2 separate regions of the Homo sapiens genome follow, and region 1 is linked to region 2. The links are contacts of gene promoters, found by promoter capture Hi-C in blood cells and fetal thymus (Javierre and others, 2016). All regions are on one chromosome and are shown on one strand. The core of a region is centred on a gene start or on the middle of the fragment in contact, and the rest is flanking DNA. Distances in the headings are between cores, read along the strand shown. Region 1 has its middle 52 kb from the start of SLC28A3-AS1. Region 2 holds the start of QNG1 (Q-nucleotide N-glycosylase 1).

Region 1 (4,006 bases), core at 3-2,502, 270 kb before region 2:
CAGAGAGAGATATATATATATATACCTCAAAAATAAAGAATCTTGTAAAAAATAACCAAAAATAGGCCAAGCCCGGTGGCTCACGCCTGTAAATCCCAGCACTTTGGGAGGCGGGGGTGGGTGGATCACCTGAGATCAGGAGTTCAAGACCAGCCTGGTCAACATGGTGAAACCCCGTCTCCACTAAAAATACAAAAATTAGCCAGGCGTGGTGGCACACGCCTGTACTCAGGAGGCCAAGGCAGGAGAATCGCTTGAACCCGGGAGGCAGAGGTTGCAGTGAGCTGAGATCGCACCATTGCACTCCAGCCTGGGTGACAGAGCAAGACTCTGCCTCAAAAAAAATAAAATAAAATAAACAACAACAACAAAAATAACCAAAATATTAATAAACATAAACTATATAACCATACTAACCAAAAAAAAACAATTATTTCATAACATTTTTAATTATCAGGTCAGAGTTCAAGTTTTTGATTTTTTTTCATAAATGAGAGAATTCTTAAGACAATTGGTACTCTGAAAATGATGGGATATTTAACGATATTTTTATTTGTTTTGAGACAGAGTCTTGCTTTGTCACCCAGGCTGGAGTGCAGTGGCATGATCTTGGCTCACTGCAACCTCCGCCTCCCAGGTTCAAGCAATTCTCCTATCTCAGCCTCCCGAGTAGCTGGGACTACAGGTGCATACCACCACGCCTGGGTAATTTTTGTATTTATTTTAGTAGAGATGGGGTTTCACTATATTGGTCAGGCTGGTCTCGAACTCTTAACCTCAGGTGATCCACCTGCCTCGCCCTCCCAAAGTGCTGGGGTTACAGGCATGAGCCACTGTGCCTAGCCTTAATGATATTTTTAAATGTTACATTTTTTTAGATATAATAATGATTTTGTATTAATGATTAAGCCTTATGCTGAAATATTTATGGCTAAAATGATATGTTATCTGGACGATTTGCTTCCAATTGGAGTAACAGGGGTACAAATGAAGCAAGACTGGTCATGAATTGGTCATTATGGAAACTGATAGACACGTGAGGGGTTTTTTATACTGCTCTCTCTGCTTTTTTATATATTTTAAATGTTCCATCATAAAAAGTTTTTAACCAGCCTGGCCAACGTGGTGAAACCCCATATCTTCTAAAAATACAAAAAATAACCAGGTGTTGTGGTACACGCCTGTAGACCCAGCTACTCGGGAGCCTGAGGTAGGAGAATTGCTTGATCCCAGGAGGCAGAGGTTGCAGTGAGCCAAGATCACACCACTGCACTCCAGCCTGGGCAACAAAGCGAGACCCTTTCTCAAAAAAAAAAAAAAAATAGAAAAGTTTTTAAAAAGCAGATTTAAACAACATATTGTTTACACATAGAAAGATAAAAAGGATAAAAAAAGAGAAAGGGAAAGATAAACACAAAATTAAGGACATGGTTATGTAGGGTTGGGGGGTGCAGAGGGTTGTTAAATGTAAATTACTGGAAATGTTCTAGCTCTTAGTTGTGAGTGACTTTTATGTTATTTTCTAAATTAAAATATTACATGATAGGTAAAAGACAGTGGTCACTTATGCACCATGACAATACTGTGGTGTCCCAAACCAAGGATTATAATTGGTTCAATTCTGTGCACCTGAGGGCCAAAGGAAAAGGAGAAAAATTGCATAGTGACCAATACACAGACACACACACACACACACACGCACTCACACACTGAAAGAGTAGCTCCAAAAACAATGCTTATCTCTACTACATGTAACACTCTGAAGTCTTCTATTCTATTTTAGTTCACTTGTTTAAAAATGCCAGTCAGGATTCAATAAACTGGTTTCCTGACCTTGTATGACCCACAGTATGCAAAACACTGGACCATGTGATGATGAGGGCCTCTTCAAATTCTCACACTCTAAAATGCTTAAGTTGGTTTAATCTATTCAATAGGCTCTACAGCTGATTACAAATAGCAGCAGTAAAAAAGGGGCTTCTTCTGTATTTCTATCTCAGAAAATATAGGGGACTGCTCTCTTGCACTGGCCTCCTTTTCCAGATCTCTAAATGGTGGAGGGCCTTGGGACTCAGTACTCTTTCTGCACCCAAGCCCAGGGGATATCATCCAGTTCCTAGACTTTATAAACGATTTATATCCTGGTGACTCTCAAATTTGTATTTCCAGCCCTAACCTTTTCCCCGAACTCCAGATTCTGACATCCAGCTGCCTACATAACATCTCTACCAGGATATCTGTTACCTCTCTTAAATCCATACTCTATATTTCTTTTTTTCCTTTTTTTTTTTTTTTTTTTTTTTTTGAGATGGAGTCTTACTCTGTCACCATGCTGGAGTGCAGTGGTATGATCTCGACTCACTGCAACCTCTGCCTCCCGGGTTCATGTGATTCTCCTGACTTAGCCTCCCAAGTAGCTGATATTACAAGCACATGCCACCACGCCCAGCTAATTTTTGTATTTTTAGTGGAGACGGGGCTTCACCATGTTGGCCAGGATGGTCTTGATCTCCTGACCTGGTGATCCACCCGCCTCGGCCTCCCAAAGTGCTGAGATTACAGGTGTGAGCCACCGCGCCTGGCTCCATACTCTATATTCTAAGCTGAGTAATAATGACTCTGTTGCTGATCCTCAGGCACAGACTAAAAGCCCTGCAGTCATCCTTGACTTCTCTCTCACACACCCCACATTCAACTCATCAGTAAATCCTCCCTCTCTATACCTTCCAGGCATATTCCAGATCTGACCACAACTGACCACTTCCTACTGACCACTGCAACCACCTTAGCCCACTCCGTCAACTCACTCTCAGAGTTCCTGGAAGGAACTTACCTCGAATGTATTCCTTTTACACCTAGAATGTTTTTCTGCCCTTCAGACTTCATCTTGTGCCACTCACATCTCCAGAACAGAGGCACATGCCTCTGCTTTCTAGCAGAGTAATAAGAAGAAAGCCTGTCCTAGGTAGGATTCTCCAAGAAATTGAGATGGAGCAGGGCTTCCCTCTTAGGGGCCTGAGATCCCCCCACCCAAGCATGGAAATAAAGGAATATCTTGAATTCCTTCTAGAAAAGATCCAAGCACATCGCTAGCCCTGAGAAGTAAATAAGCGACTTGATAAGGAACAGGGTACTCTAAAACAAGAGCCAGGGAAGCTAGAAGTATGGGATATTTGGTTCCCCTAAGAAACTAAAGATAACATTTTAACCCATGTCTCCAAGTTGTTTTTCAGAAACCCAGACCCTCACCAAACAGATCTGCAGGCAAATGGACCTCAGCTAAGGGGAAACTGAGGCCTGAACCCTGACCACCTTTCTTTGTTCTATATTTCTTCCTGAGGGGCCTGGAGGAAGTCACACCCATAGGTCAGAGCGTACATTCTTTTCTGCTGTCCCCAAATGTTTAAACAGAGCCTGTCTTCCTTAACCAACTGCAAATCAGAAAAAGCTTTGAATCTACCCATGACTTTTAAACTCCTGTTTCAAGATATCCTGCTGTGTTAGGCTTGATAAAAGAAAAACTTTAACCAGATTAAATTTAAAGGAGTTTAATTGAGCAATGAACGATTCACAAATTGGGTGGCCTCCAGAGCCACAGCAGATTCACAGAGACTCCAGCACAGCCATGTGGTGGAAGAAGATTTACAGACAAAAAAAGGGAACTGACGTACAGAAATTGGAGGTGAGGTGCAGAACAGCTGGATTGGTTACAGCTCAGTGTTTGCCTTATTTGAACACACTTGGAACACTCAGCAGTGAGAGTGGTTGAGGTACGGCCGCTGGGATTGGCCAAAACTCAGCTATTGTTACAGGCGCATACTCCTAAGTTAGGTTTTCAATATTGTCTACCTATTAAACTAGGTCGCAGTTCATCCACAAGGACCCAACTACAGAGGTATGGAGTCCTTCTCAGGCCATATTTAGTTCGCTTTAACAGGCTAAAACCAATGTGTAACCTCCATGCATTGATTTACAATTTTGTCTGTAATTTCTGCTTTCCTGAAAT
Region 2 (3,664 bases), core at 397-2,896:
GTCAAATTTAAAAGCTCCATTTGGGGCCAGGTGTGGTGGCTCATGCCTGTAATCCCAGCATTTTGGGAGGCCAAGACAGGCGGATCACCTGAGGTCAGGAGTTCGAGATCAGCCTGGCCAACATGGTGAAAACCTGTCCCTACTAAAAATACAAAACTTAGCCGGGCGTGGTGGCGGGCACCTATAATCCCAGCTACTCGGGAGGCTAAGCCAGGAGAATTGCTTGAACCCAGGAGGCGGAGGTTGCAGTGAGCCGAGACTGTGCCACTGCATTCCAGCCTGGATGACAGAGTGAGACTCCGTCTCAAAAAAAAAGCTCCATTTGGGAGGCCGAGGAGGGTGGATTACCTGAGGTCAGGAGTTTGAGACCAGCCTGGCCCACATAGGGAAACCCCATCTCTACTAAAAATACAAAAATTAGTCAGGTGTGGTGGCTGACACCTATAATCCCAGCTACTTGGGAAGCTGAGGCAGGGAGAATCACTTGAACCGGGGAGGTGGAGGTTGCAGTGAGCTGAGATCATGCCACTGCACTCCAGCCTGGGCGACAGGGTGAGATTCTGTCTCAAACAAACAAATTTAAAAGCTCCGAATCCTCCAAAAATACCAAGATTTTCCTGTCGGTAACTAGAGATGGGTACTGATGATTATTTTTAATAGGTGATTTTCAAAGATGTGAACGTTATCCATGGAGATTTAAGTCTCCAAAAGGAAAAAAAATGCATACCTTTATACTAAAACTTCATCACCAGTCAAATTTGGATCATCACTAAATTGGCTTCTACACCTCTCTCCTAATATAAGGTACTTGTGTAAGTTTGCAGTTGTGAGACACTTATTTCCTCATTTTTAATGTCTTCTCAGTAGGGCCACTGATATAGTCACTATTTGACTGACCAGAATGGTTGGCACTGGTGATTGGCTCATAAAGTGCCCTCGATTTAGGGGGCTCAATTATCAAAGGTTTAAATCCTAGCCCAAACCATTGCTGTGATGGGGGTTAATCAATGAACCACTCAGCTTCACTTGCAAAAGCGGGATCACAATAGCCGCTTTCGTCATGACCCAGCCTAGGTGAGATTTAGTACTTAAGTACACTGCCAGGCACACAAGGTTAATTTAACAATTTAACACATTTGTTTCCTCATCCATTTCTCCAAACCTTCCAACTAATCCTAACGTTCGTTCGGCCAAATGGGCCAGGAATTCACTTAAACAAAAACAAAAAACAAAACAAACAAAAAAACACTCCCTGGGGCTTGGGGAAGGAGGCACCGCCGCCCATGTCGCAGTCTGGGGGTGGCTCAGTCCTCAGCACCCAGATCTACGGCCATAATGCTCTTCGAGGCCAAGGAGCCCGGATGCGGGGCGTTGCCGAAGGCGTCTTGCTCAGGCTGCGGGAAAGGAGAGGGGTGGGAGCGGGGTGGGGGCATCGCGACCCAGGGCAAGGCGGCGAGTCGCCGTCTTCGAGTCCCACCTGTCCGAAGCGGGGTGAGAAAAGGCAAAACATGGCAAAGCCATGCACCTCCCAGGGTGGGCAACTCACGGCCGGTGAACGCCGGACCCTTAGCAGTTTCCAGACCTTTGGAACCGGAAGCGGAGCCTGAGAGCGCGCCCGAGAGGGCGTGAACGGGACCGCTTTCCCGGAAGTGCTTGCGGCCTCTGCCCAGCGAGCTGCCCCGGGGTCTCTCTGGTTTCCTAATCAGGGCAACGCCGCGGGAGAGAACCTTTACCTTGGCTGCACTAAGTTCTCGGTGCCACTCCCTGGCAGGGCGGGACCTTGTTTAGGCCCTGTGATCGCGCGGTTCGTAGTAGCGCAAGGCGCAGAGTGGACCTTGACCCGCCTAGGGCGGGAAGAGTTTGGCCCGCCGGGTCCCAAAGGGCAGAATGGACGGGCTCCTAAATCCCAGGGAATCCTCTAAATTCATTGCAGAAAACAGTCGGGATGTGTTTATTGACAGCGGAGGCGTACGGAGGGTGGCAGAGCTGCTGCTGGCCAAGGCGGCGGGGCCAGAGCTGCGCGTGGAGGGGTGGAAAGCCCTTCATGAGCTGAACCCCAGGGCGGCCGACGAGGCCGCGGTCAACTGGGTGTTCGTGACAGACACGCTCAACTTCTCCTTTTGGTCGGAGCAGGACGAGCACAAGTGTGTGGTGAGGTACAGAGGGAAAACATACAGTGGGTACTGGTCCCTGTGCGCCGCCGTCAACAGAGCCCTCGACGAAGGTTGGTGCCATACTTGCCATCGGACCTAACGGCCTTTGAGGTTTCCATTTACTTGGGGTGTGTGTAGGGGAGTTCCAAGGAGCGGGTTGGGAGATGGAATAATGGAAAGCGAACCTGAAGTTCGTTGCAAGTCCTTATGCTTAAAATAGAAGTATGAAAAGGGGCATATTTTAGTGGAAAATGATGTTAATATTTATCATTGCAGCATAAAAGTTACAGTAGCATAAAAGTCAGTTTTATAAAGAATGCCATTTGAATGACACCTGAAGAACAAAAGGACCGATGTTATAAAGCAATTTACTCAGAATACATCTGATGTAATATTGCAATAGTTAGAAATGGGTGAATAAGTACAGATGAACAAGTAGAAAATGAGTTTTGCTTTAGATTTTTTATTCTTCCACTTTTGGTGCATTCCTATACCACTCATTTGGTTTCATATTAATTCCATGTTGTAAAAGCAAGGGTTTAATGCATATGGAAGTATGACATTGGTCCTCTGAATTTTATTTTTTCACTAAAGGGATACCAATAACTAGTGCCTCGTACTACGCGACAGTGACCCTGGATCAGGTTCGGAATATACTTCGTTCTGACACAGACGTTTCCATGCCTTTAGTAGAAGAGAGGCATCGGATTCTCAATGAAACCGGGAAAATTCTGCTGGAGAAGTTTGGAGGCTCTTTTCTCAACTGCGTCCGAGAAAGTGAGAATAGTGCGCAGAAGTTAATGCACCTGGTGGTTGAAAGTTTTCCTTCTTACAGAGATGTGACTCTGTTTGAGGTGAGTTGCTTCTGTTGGGGATTTTAGAAGTCTTAATCATCTCAGAGTTAACTCTTTTACTTCCAGAACTCATTTTAAGAATAAAAACTTAAATTTTTAAATGTATTCCTTGTGGAAGAAACTAACAAAATCAAGTAGTGTTTCAAAGTCATTTCTTATGTTTTCTTTTGTTTGTTTGTTTGAGACAGAGTTTTGCTCTTGTTGCGCAGGCTGGAGTGCAGTGGCGTGATCTTGGCTCACCGCAACCTCTGCCTCCCGGGTTCAAGCGATTCTCCTGCCTCAGCCTCCCGAGTAGCTTGGATTACAGGGATGCGCCACCAAGCCCGGCTAATTTTATGTATTTTTAGTAGAGACGGGGTTTCACTATGTTGGCCAGGCTGGTCTCAAACTCCCGACCTCAGGTAATCTGGTCGCCTCAGCCTCCCAAAGTGTTGTGATTACAGGCGTGAACCACCACGCTGGCGTCATTTCTTTCCTTTTTTTTTTTTTTTTTTTTTTTTTGAGATGGACTCTTACTCTGTCACCCAGGCTAGAGTGCAGTGGCGCGATCTTGGCTCACTGCAAACTCCGCCTCCCGGGTTCAGGTGATTCACCTGCCTCAGTCTCCCGACTAGCTGGGATTACAGGTGCCCGCCACTGCGCTAGGCTAATTTTTGT

The links. Contacts are between HindIII fragments. The CHiCAGO score rates a contact against its expected background, and 5 or more counts as called.
Region 1: a fragment that was not itself captured here is called in contact with the fragment with the promoter of QNG1 in region 2 in 2 of 17 cell types (neutrophils and endothelial precursors); the score reaches 5.2 in neutrophils.

What each region holds. Positions count from the first base shown.
Region 1 is chr9:84,224,094-84,228,099 of GRCh38, reverse strand. No RefSeq gene overlaps it. Among named protein-coding and RNA genes, the nearest start is that of SLC28A3-AS1, 52 kb to the left of the region's middle. The HindIII fragment of the contact is 4,396 bases long and covers 1-3,450 here.
Region 2 is chr9:83,954,724-83,958,387 of GRCh38, reverse strand. QNG1 (Q-nucleotide N-glycosylase 1) reads left to right here and starts at 1,646. Exons shown (of 4, transcript NM_032307.5): 1 at 1,646-2,224; 2 at 2,748-3,007. The coding sequence starts at 1,888. The HindIII fragment of the contact is 8,080 bases long and covers 1-3,664 here.